Regions from separate parts of the Homo sapiens genome. Here all the other regions are linked to region 2. The links are contacts of gene promoters, found by promoter capture Hi-C in blood cells and fetal thymus (Javierre and others, 2016). All regions are on one chromosome and are shown on one strand. Each heading gives the region's core, a stretch centred on a gene start or on the middle of the fragment in contact. The rest is flanking DNA. Distances are from core to core; before and after follow the strand shown.

Region 1 (2,700 bases), core at 30-2,529, 2.2 Mb before region 2:
CATGTAAGGACAATGCCCTCCTGCCTCCCCGCCCTGCATGTAGCCCTCATGCCGTGTCATAGTATATTTTGTGAACCTTTTACTGCCAGCCCTCAGCGAAGTGGGAAGGAGGGTAGGGAGTAGGGAGAGAATGAGTGTTTATTAGAGTACCTGCACTGAATAATGACTATCAATAATTACGGAGCACAGCACTTGCTAGGCACTTTACACATGGCATCTCATTCTCACTAGAGCCTGTAATATTATGATCCCCATTTTACATGCAAGGAAGGTGTAATCAGGAGAGGTTAGTGACTTGCCCAAGATCCCACACATGGTAAACGAAGAGCTAAAATTTGAACTCAGTTGTGACCATTTCCAAAGGAGAAAAGCTTCATATTTCAAAGATTATTCCCACCTTCCACATGGAGTCAGGAAACTGGACTCTGGGTTCAATGCAGCCATTGATTGGCTCTGTGACTTTAAACTAGTTCTTTGCTAGTTTAAATCTTACCAATTATCAAACTGAAATCAAACACTTGACTTCAGTTTGGTTTTTCAAACATGGGAGGGCTAGCCCAGGCGAGGAGATTAGAAATTCTTTAGTAGCAAAACCTTTTTTTTTTTTTTCTTGAACATAAAATCTTTTGAGGGAAATTGCATGCATAAAGCAAACAATGGGGAGTAAGGGGAGACCCCAATTAATGACAGCATGACTTGTCCTTTGCCCCTCCCTTTCCTTGCCTCTTGATAGGCATTGAGAAACACCCAAAGAAGTTCCTGAGGGGCCAGAAGAAATCAAGTTTGAAAACCTCTGAAGTAAATATACTCAAGGGACTCTTTCAGAGCCCAGTCTGTTGTTTGAGATTACAACTTAAAAAATGGGCTGACACTTTCCTTGGGAGGTTTGAAAATGTGTTAAATCTTACTATGCAGTGGCAAGAAGGAAGAACTAGTGAAGTTTGACCTGGAGGAAGATCCAAAATATTGTTCTCATCCTCCAGCCCTAGTCAAGTAAATTCTGAGTCTCTTGGGACTAACAGACCTAATGAAACAATTGAACTGAACCTGACCCAGTGAGGAGGGTCAGCTTCCAGTTGGGATTTTACTGGCAGGCAGGATGGGCAGTATAATTCCACCTTCCCAAGGTGGCCAGGGTGTTCCCAGGCACCCATTCTGGGTCCAACACAGCTGTGGATGGTGGTGTTGAGTTTTTCTTGTTTGAGACAAAACTCTTGGTCACATAAGATATTGTTGGGTTGTGATTGCCACTAATCCTAGTTCTTACACTCATGCAGGATGCTGTCTTTTATCAGGAGATCCTGTCAAGACTTAGTTCTATCTCAAGGGCTATTCCTCTGTCCTGTGTATCTGCTTGTAGGTTTCAGCCATGTTGTTTCTTTGACCATAGTATAAAAGTGCTCAAGGTGGCTTGGTGGCATGTGTGCAGAATGGTGTATGTTCCCTGTAAGCTCAGAACTCTTACTCCGAAAGAGTAAGTCACAAGGCCGAGAGCGGTGGCTCATGCCTCTAATCCCAGCACTTTGGGAGGCCAAGGTGGGCAGATCACAAGGTCAAGAGTTCCAGACCAGCCTGACCAATATGGTGAAATCCCGTCTCTACTAAAAATACAAAAATTAGCTGTGCGTGATGGCATGCACTTGTAGTCCCAGCTATTTGGGAGGCTGAGGCAGAAGAATTGCTTGAACTCTGGAGGCGGAGGTTGCAGTGAGCGAAGATCACACCACTGCACTCCAGCCTGGGCGACAGAGTGAGACTCTATCTCAAAAAAAAAAAAAAAAAAAAAAAGAGTAAGTCACAGTGGAGAATAGCACTTGCTCAGTGGTCACTGTGCAGGCTCTGGAAAGACTGTGTAGAGTTGAACTGTGGCCACTGTGGCATGTTTCTTAATGACTCTGTGCTACACTTCCCTCATCTGTAAAGCAGGGAAAACAGTACACTCCAAAGATAATTGGTAAGATTTAAACAAGGTGATGTTTAAAAGAGTGGGAGTACAGTACTGGATCTTGGTACATCTCAATAAAGATGAACTCTTGTTTTATTGTCATCACCATTTCAAAAGTCCTGGAGGTTTCAGGAAGTGATGATATAAGGGCATAAAGCCTGATGAAATGTAAATTTGTCTCCCAAGATCTTCCCCGAGGGTTGAATGATATCTGGTTGTTTTTAGAGTCTGTCTTTTTTTCAAGAAGCTTTTTCTGTAAAAGCGCCAGATGATAGTAAATATTTTACGGTTTGTGGATCAGACAGTTCTGTCACAGCTACTTAACTCTTCCCTTATAGGACAAAAACAGCAACAGACAACATATAAAGAAGTGAAAAACTTCATGAAAACGGGCTGTGGGCAATTTGCTGACCCCCTACTTTAGACTATGTGAGCCTCGGATCTGGGGACTCTGTTTTATTCTTATTTCTTAAGCTATTCTTCTTATTCTTATTTCTTATTCATTCTTCCTTATTTCTTAAGCTATTGACTCTAATGTGTTTTATAGAGTGGACACTCAGAGTAAGTTATCTAAATGAACAAAGGAATCAGTGAATAAGTGAATGCGTGCAGATTGAACCCTGCTCAATCAATCCGCATGCACTTGTTTTGTTTTACTCTAGGGAATCAAAGGTTAATATCCAAGGTTGATGAGTTCTAAATGTCTTAAATTTTAGAACTTGTATCATCCCGGCATAATTGATGACTGGCTATGG
Region 2 (2,700 bases), core at 146-2,645:
ACAATGTCACTGGGGGTCAAGAGTGCTACAAAAACAGAGAGCTGGGTTGGGCAATGCCTGCTGACTCACCACAATCCAGTCATGTCAGTCTTTGATCAGAATCTCACTCACCAAGGACTTTCCTGTTCAGGGACTTTCAAGAGGTTGTTCCTTCTTCCTAGAATGTTTTTCCTCACATTCTTTCTTCTGGGAGAGTCCTACTCATCTTTCTGATTTCAATTTAAATATGACTGTCTCAGAGAGACATTTCTCATAAAGAGAAAAACCTGTATTCAGAAAGTCTGAGGCATTCCTTGACACTCACCATAAAATCAAAATGTGATGTATTTGTTAAACACTCTTATAGTGCCTTGTGTTTTCCTTAACAACACTTATCAGGGTCTGCATTTAGTTGTATGATTATTTGGTTACTGACTGATCCCCTCACTCAACTAGACTGAAGTACTCTGAGAACCAGAGCTACTTCTGCCTTATTCATTACAGCATCTCTATCACTTAACATACTCTCTGATGCATAGTATGGGCACAATGAACATCTGTAGGTTGAGTAACAAATATTTGTCAAGCGAGCGAGTAAATGAATAAATCAAGCAAAAAGCACAGAAGAGAAGTTTATAGTTCTCAACAGACCAAGACAAAAACATCTCGGATTCTGAGGAAACATATCACCCTTCAAACACTTTCTGTAGCGACCTCACACCTTCACAGCCACTACACTGTTTTTGCCCATGCTTCCTCACTTGCCCCTCACACAGATAGCCCCATGAGATAAAACAGAGTAGGCTTATCATAGGCATCTGACAGATGTGCCCACCGCCTCTTGTATTTCCTTCTTAACATTCATCACATCACAAAGACTTTCTCCCTCCAGACTTGTAAGCTCCTAGTGACACGGACCGATTCTTGTTCACCACAGGATCCCTATTGTGTTGCATGAACAAGAAGTAGAGTATCTCCAAAGAGTTGTCTAAGGTGACAATAAACACGGCCAATGAAAAGAAACCACTTTTTGTTGAACATCTATGTACCAAACCAAGTCAGTAAGGTAGGTACCATTCTGCGGATAAGTACCGTATACTTAAGTTCAGAGAGGTGAAATTACTCGCTCAAAGTCACGCAGAATAAACGTCACTCTGAACCCTGCATCTCAGTCCCACCTGCTGCAGTAGAGACGCCATCTCTTCCTGCAATGGGGTCAACGGCTTGGAGACTACAGGTGGCCGCTGCAGGCACAACGCGCCCAACAAGCGCCATGGGGATCCGTTGCTTGAGGGTGCGGCTGCAAGAGCCAGGCTGCGAGAGCTTAGACTGCCGGCCCAGAGCCTCTCGAACCGCCGCCAACCCCCCGCCACCCCTAACAGCGTCCGCCTTACGGGCGCCGCCATCTTTCGTTCTCCCACAATGCACCGCGGCTCCCAGGGATCCCTCAGCCGCGGGAGCGGCAAACTAGGGGAAAGCTCAGTCCCGGAACTGCTAGAACGAACCATTCGCATATGGAGGGGGTGACCCACCATCTCAGAACATTAAAAAAGGGAAAGAATCCCCTGGTGAACTACAGTGAAAGTCTTATTGAGCATTTAAATGGAAATAAAAATATTCAGTGGACCTAATGAAGAGTAGATGACTTTCCCTTCTGTCCCCTCCCCGACAGGCACTCATGGTACCGGCGCCGGCGCAGCTGTGACTGTCGCTGCAGACGGAAACTGACTGGGGTCAATTCAAGTCATGCAGGCTGTGAGAAACGCGGGGTCGCGGTTCCTGCGGTCCTGGACTTGGCCCCAGACAGCCGGGTAACAAATGACTGCCCCCTCGAGCCCACCGCCACCTCCAGGACTATGCTCCTACTCGTGTCCCTTGAGCCACCCGGGCCCCAGTGACCGTTAGGCCGTGGCCCTCACCGAGCTTTTCTTCCCAGCAGGGTCGTGGCCAGAACGCCGGCCGGGACCATCTGCACAGGCGCTCGACAGCTCCAAGACGCTGCGGCCAAGCAGAAAGTTGAACAGAACGCGGCTCCCAGCCACACCAAGTTCAGGTGAGCCCCACTTGGACCAGCCCTCTGGAGACCCGCAACCCCTGACTCTTGCCCGACACCCTCCAGAGTCAGAACCAGTGAATTTTCAGCTATGTCACTTGCTATCCGTGGGACCTTATGCAAATAAATCTGAGCCTCAGCCTTCTCATCTAAAAATGCGGATAATGCTGAGAGAGGTTGTGAGAATCAGATGAGCCGTGGTACAGAGTAAATGTTCAGTGAACATTCGTTAAATCAATGAGTGAATGTGAGATATCCATAACATGTATCAGCGTTCTTTTCTTCTGAGATGGAGATCTTTTCAGACCAATAACCTTCCCTGCCTCCAAAACAAAATGGGGAGGTAGAGGGCGCTAGCGATGGAACAGATGTTCCTGCACGTCTTACGGATGGTCCAGGGTGGGTTTTGTGCTCAGCCCTAGGAACTGGCATCTTGCTTCCCACCAGTGCCACCACCTCTGTATGCTGTATACACATCCACTTAACTTCACATCCATTTAACAAACATTTACCAAGAATCTACTATGAGTGAGACACCATGCTAGGTGCCGTGAATACAGATACAAAAGATCATTCCTCCCCACAAGTAGTTCACAGTCTTTGAGGGAAGACAAACATGCAAACATTTTAACCATAATCTGCTCAATAATATAATGGAGGTAAGCATT
Region 3 (2,700 bases), core at 10-2,509, 2.6 Mb before region 2:
TGCACAGGGTGGGGCCAAGCAACTGTGCCCATCCAAGCCTGAGCCGCACCACTCAGTGCCTGAAATCCCAGCCTAAGCCCACGTGGGTCTTTTCCCTGCACTACTGTGAGAACTTTGCTTTATCTCATGTCTAAGATAAACACCCAGGACATGTCTTGTAGAGATATACTCAGTCTCAGAAATGCTTGTGCCTACTCAAAGGGGGTGTGTTGGAAGGAGCCCTGGGAAGTGTCAGGCAGAGGTCTGATTGATTGTTGACTACCTACCCCATGCTTACCATATGTTTATGCCATTTTAGTCCTTAAAACAATGGTTCTCAAAGCATGGTAACCAGACCTGCAGCATCAGCGCTGCCTGGGAACTTATTAGAAATGCAGAGGTGGGAGGATCACTTGGGGTCAGGAGTTCAAGACCAGCCTGGCCAACATGGCAAAACCCCATCTCTGCTAAGAATACAAAAATTAGCTGGGCATGGTGGCATGTGCCGGTAGTCCTAGCTACTTGGGAGGCTGAGGCAGGAGAATTGCTTGAACACGGGAGGCAGAGGTTGCAGTGAGCCGAGATCTTGCCATTGCACTCCAGCCTGGGCAACACAGCCAGACTCTGTCTCAAAAAAAAAAAGAAATGCAGATGCTTGGGACCACCTGGGACCTGCTGAATCAGAGACTCTGGGGGAGGAGTCGGGGTAGAAATCTATGTTTTAACCCTTTAGATTATTCTGGGGCTTGCTCAAGTTTAAAACTGCTGCCTTAAAACATCCTCAGTCCTTAACATAATCCCCTATGTGTTATCACCACCATTCAGATAACAATCCCCAGGAGATGTCTAAGCTGCCCCAAGCAGAAAGTGGCACCTCAGTGCTGAAATGCAAACCCAAGTCCACCTAGCCTGAAAGTCCTCAGAGCTTCTTACCACATCCACCCTGCCTGCAAAGAAAATCTAGAAGCTAGTTTTTTTTCTGGCTCCTCCTCCCGCTCTCCTTCTAAGGTAGTCCACTCCCTCCTCTTTCTCACTGTCTCTGATCGTGACCCTCCCACACCTGCTTTCAAAGCTTTGTCTGTGAACCAATTAGAGGTTTGAAAAGCTGGTATCAGAAGTGCCCAGTATCATTTTTATGAGACTTCATGAATAAGAAAACAATGCCAACAAGTCAATATTGCGTGCAAATGTCAGTAAATTCCCACTCAATGGCTCCCTAGCCTGAATTTTGCAGAGTGAAATCGATGCAAGTTTTGTCAGGCCTGCTGACTTTAAAGGCGGAGGACCCTGTGCATCCAGAGAACCCACTGAAGGATGTAGGCTGCATCGTCACTCACTCTGGAAGGAAGTTAACAAAAGTACTTACACCTTTAACCTCCAGGGCATTCCTTCCCAGGCTGTGGAGGGGGGCTCCTTAGCCTGCAGTGACCTGGAATATGTTTCCAACTTTGCAGAAGTGCTGAGATCCACAAGATGGCAGCAGCCGCTCAAGCTTCGCACAGGGTCCCTGCTGCTTTTGTAATTCCCAAATTAAAAACCAAACCAAACCAAACCAAACGTACATCTGCAATCTGGAAGACGCCAGGAAAGATCATTCATTCTAGGCCTGCCCCCTTTACATCCAGAACTGTCCACATCAGAATCAATGTGAGCAAACTGCTTATAAAGGTCTTAGGGAAAAGGAATCTCAATTGTTGACTCAATTGATTCATTTATTTATTTACTTCTTTTTCCATCCTCCCAACTTTTCACTCTGAAAAGTTTCAAACCTATAGAAAAGCTGGAAGATGAACATCTTCTTGGTCTTCACTGGGATTCATCAAATTATCACATTTAGCCACATTTATTTCATCTTTCTCTCTCTTCCTCTGGATGAAAGCTTTGATAGTTGCAGACACCCTGACACTTTACCTCTCAATAATTCAACACGTCTTCTAAGAATAAAGACATTTCTTTATATAACCACAACATCACCATATCCAAGAACCTTAACATTGATACATTACTTAATTTATAATCACATTTAAATTGCCCCAACGGTCCCAGCAATGTTCTTTACAATAATTTTCTTTCTTTCCCTTCCTTCCTTCCTTCATTCCTTCCTTCCTTCCTTCCTTCCTTCCTTCCTTTCTTTCTCTCTGTCTTTCTTTCCTTCCTTCTTTGAGATGGAGTCTCACTCTGTGGCAGAGGCTGGAGTGCAGTGGTGTGATCTCAGCTCACTGCAGCCTCTACCTCCCAAGTAGCAGGGATTACAGGCGTGTGCCACCACACCTGGCTAATTTTTTTGTATTTGTAGTACAGATGGGGTTTCACCATGTCAGCTAGGCTGTTCTTGAACTCCTGACCTCCAATGATCCGACTGCCGCGGCCTCCCAAAGTGCTGGGATTACAGGTGTGAGCCACCTCGCCTGGCCTATAGTAATTTTCAATCCCCTGCTACAGAGTCCATTTGAGTATCACACCCTCATGTAGTTGTCATGTCACCTTTTTTGTAGAGCTCTCCTCCTCCGCTTTTGATCTTTTATGACATTGACATTTCTCAACAGTCCGGTTCATGTGTTTTGTAGAATGCCCAGCACTCTGGATTTGTCTTACTGATTCTGGATTATTAATCCAGGTTAAGTATCTTGGCAAGAATACTACCAGGGCAATCTGGCATCCTTCCTGTTACATCACTTCAGGCGGCACATGATGTCATGTGGTCCCATTACTGACGATGCT
Region 4 (2,700 bases), core at 153-2,652, 2.6 Mb before region 2:
ATCCGACCACCTTAGCCTCCCAATGTGCTGGGATTACAGGTGTCAGCAACCACACCCAGCCCACTACTCCTTTCTTATTTTAGTACAAGAACTGAGCTGGGAAGGTTGGTGCTGTTTTATAAGCAACTGGGAACATTCAAGGTTTATGAGGATGGGGCTGACTCTATGAATGGGGAAAAGGTGGAGTTGGTGGTGATGAGGTGTGGTGGGGTTGAATTGGGGAAATCATACACAGCTATCGTAATAGTTGAGGAAAAGAGAGTGAGTCTTGAGCTAGGAGACCGGTGTTGGGAATGGAAAGGAGAGGAGAGTTTCTGTGATAGAGTTCCTTTCCTCTGGGATTCCCAGCCTTTACATTAAAAACATCTCCAGACTTTAGCTTTTGTATCAAGCTGCCAGCTGCCTTGGAAATGATCCAAAGATAAGAGACATGTAATTCCAGGCTGTGATGGGGGTTAATGGCCTTGTGTACAATAGAAGTCCCAGAAATGAGGTTTGGTCTCAGACAAAGGAAGGAGAGAAAATAACTCGAGTTATTATAAAAGAAAACATCTCAGAGTTAGATTAAGAAAGTGGGACAAGGTGGGGTAATGAAGACTCTGCAAAGGAGTGCCTGGGAAGGAGGAGGGGCTGTGTGCTTCGGCAGAGGAAGAATAGATCCCTTGGATCTATTCCTGTATTTATATAGTTGATAAAGGGAATGCCTTTTAGAGAAGAAAATATTTAAGAAAAGATCCTGCTTGGTATAGAAGGTAAGATGTTGAAAGCATAGTTTATAGAGAGTCAAGACGCGAATTTCTTTGTATTATAAATAAATAGAAATTTGATGATGTGGGCGTAAAGAAGAGAGGAGCAGAGAGAAGATCAGAGGGGAATGTGGGGTAAATGCACCCAATAGCAATCATTTAAGCATACACTTAGAATGACCCTGCATGGCAGACACACCTGAATGTGTGTTCTGAGCTAGGGAATCTGGGAGTGGCCAACCCAGAGATTCATTCCTTATCCATGATGAACATCTGAGCCTACAGCTTACCCCATGGAACACGGGCTGTATAGGGAATTGAAGCCCTGAGTTTTGGGTTAAATGAAGCTTGCCAGGTGGAGGTCATTACGCAGAGGGTGTTAAATTAAAATGCTATATAAACTACATGTTATTTGCAGGTGGCTGTGGTTTTCCTGCCCAGCCCACTACCACTGGGCCGTAGATGAGATGGATATCTTGTCCAGCCCGCTGCCACTGGACCATTTCTGCAGGTAAGGGGGTCAAACCCACAGCCACTGGACCCTCTTCTCTGTAGGTAAGCTCCGTAATAAAGCCCTATGTCTCATGTGCTTGCTCTGGGTCTCTTCAGCCTCTTGAACCTGATGCCTTCTCTATTGAGGTTTACAGGGGTTCAGCACAATAGGGAGGGGAAGGTGTCAGAGCATTCTGGTGGGTTCTGGGGCTTTTAAGAATAGAGATGCTGCTACTCAGTTGGAAATGATTTGTATTTCTTTGATTGGAGCCCCTTTCCCTAGTGGCTTCATGAAAGTGTACTACCTTCAAAATCCTAGTGGGATATATTTCATAAAACAGTAACCACAGATGTGCTGGGTCCCATATCCAGGTTGATGCCATGGGGCAAGGGACTCCCTGTGAGGATGGGTGAGGTTGTCCATCTGCTGACTTGATTCAGCTGCAGAACTTGAATCTAGAAGGGACCCTGAAATAAGCTTTTTAAGAACACCCAGAAGTCATGGGGGAGGATCCTGGGTTTCCGCAGGTCAAGGAGTGAAGTTCTAGCTGGTAGTATCTGGTCCTTAAGTGTGGAGAGACCTCAGCTGGTGGCTGGATTACAGATCTGGGCTGTTCTGTTTTCTTCTGGGGTTTGGCTTGATTGTATATGGTGTACCAATTTGGAACGGCCACTACTCAATGCAGTGACCTCCAACCAGCTGAGCTCTGAAACTTGGGAATTCCTGGGCTGGCAAGGGAAGCCTGGATTCTGGGTCTGCTGTCTGTGGGTAAGAGTGTCAGGAGGCTGGAGCAGCAGGAGACGGTGCTGGCTGGCGCCGGTGTTCTGGGTCTTCCTTCCAAGCTGCAATCAGGATTCCTTTCCTGAGATTCCTCCGAATTGCCTGTCTCCAAAATGCATAAGATGTTTCTGAAATCAGTGCTTCTCAAACTTTAATGCGTACCAGTGTCACCTGGATGGCTCATTAGAACCACGTGCTGAGCCCCTTCCCCAGAGGTCTGGAAGTGAGGCCTGACAATTTGCATTTCTAACAAGTTCTCAGGTGATGCTGATGCTGCTGGTCTGGAAACCACACTGAGAATCCCTGTCCTAGACCAGCATTTCTCACTTTACTGTGCACAGGAATTACTTGGGTTTCTTATTAAAATGCAGGTTCTAATTCAGTAGGTTTGGGGTGAGACCTGAGAATTAGCATTTTGACCAGCTCCCAGGTAAAGCTGATGTATAAGGACCACCCTTTGAGTAGCACCACCCCCAGTCATGCTGCCTTTAGCCTCTGACTGGCTGAAGGTCAAATGTTTCTACTCCCCTAAGAATAAGTACTTCTGGCTGGACACAGTGGCTCATGCCTGTAATCCCAGCACTTTGGGAGGCTGAGGCAGGCAGATTGAGGTCAGGAGTTCGAAGCCAGCCTGGCCAATGTGGTGAAACCCCGTCTCTACTAAAAATACAAAAAAATTAG

Evidence for each region. Contacts are between HindIII fragments. The CHiCAGO score rates a contact against its expected background, and 5 or more counts as called.
Region 1: a contact is called between a fragment that was not itself captured here and the fragment with the promoter of MRPL46 in region 2, in 1 of 17 cell types (endothelial precursors). The highest score is 6.3, in endothelial precursors.
Region 3: a fragment that was not itself captured here is called in contact with the fragment with the promoter of MRPL46 in region 2 in 4 of 17 cell types (M2 macrophages, endothelial precursors, M1 macrophages and 1 more); the score reaches 19.9 in M2 macrophages.
Region 4: a fragment that was not itself captured here is called in contact with the fragment with the promoter of MRPL46 in region 2 in 4 of 17 cell types (endothelial precursors, M0 macrophages, M2 macrophages and 1 more); the score reaches 11.2 in endothelial precursors.

What each region holds. Positions count from the first base shown.
Region 1 is chr15:86,232,786-86,235,485 of GRCh38, forward strand. All of the region lies in intron 6 of AGBL1 (AGBL carboxypeptidase 1), which reads left to right. Among named protein-coding and RNA genes, the nearest start is that of AGBL1-AS1, 83 kb to the right of the region's middle. The HindIII fragment of the contact is 1,821 bases long and covers 370-2,190 here.
Region 2 is chr15:88,465,993-88,468,692 of GRCh38, forward strand. It overlaps MRPL46 (mitochondrial ribosomal protein L46), which reads right to left and starts at 1,396. Exons shown (of 4, transcript NM_022163.4): 1 at 1,158-1,396. The coding sequence starts at 1,385. It overlaps MRPS11 (mitochondrial ribosomal protein S11), which reads left to right and starts at 1,716. Exons shown (of 6, transcript NM_022839.5): 1 at 1,716-1,790; 2 at 1,916-2,032. The coding sequence starts at 1,726. RefSeq lists enhancers at 1-930, 1,397-1,566. The HindIII fragment of the contact is 6,788 bases long and covers 1-2,700 here.
Region 3 is chr15:85,863,834-85,866,533 of GRCh38, forward strand. No RefSeq gene overlaps it. Among named protein-coding and RNA genes, the nearest start is that of MIR548AP, 40 kb to the left of the region's middle. The HindIII fragment of the contact is 420 bases long and covers 1,050-1,469 here.
Region 4 is chr15:85,883,478-85,886,177 of GRCh38, forward strand. No RefSeq gene overlaps it. Among named protein-coding and RNA genes, the nearest start is that of MIR548AP, 59 kb to the left of the region's middle. The HindIII fragment of the contact is 623 bases long and covers 1,092-1,714 here.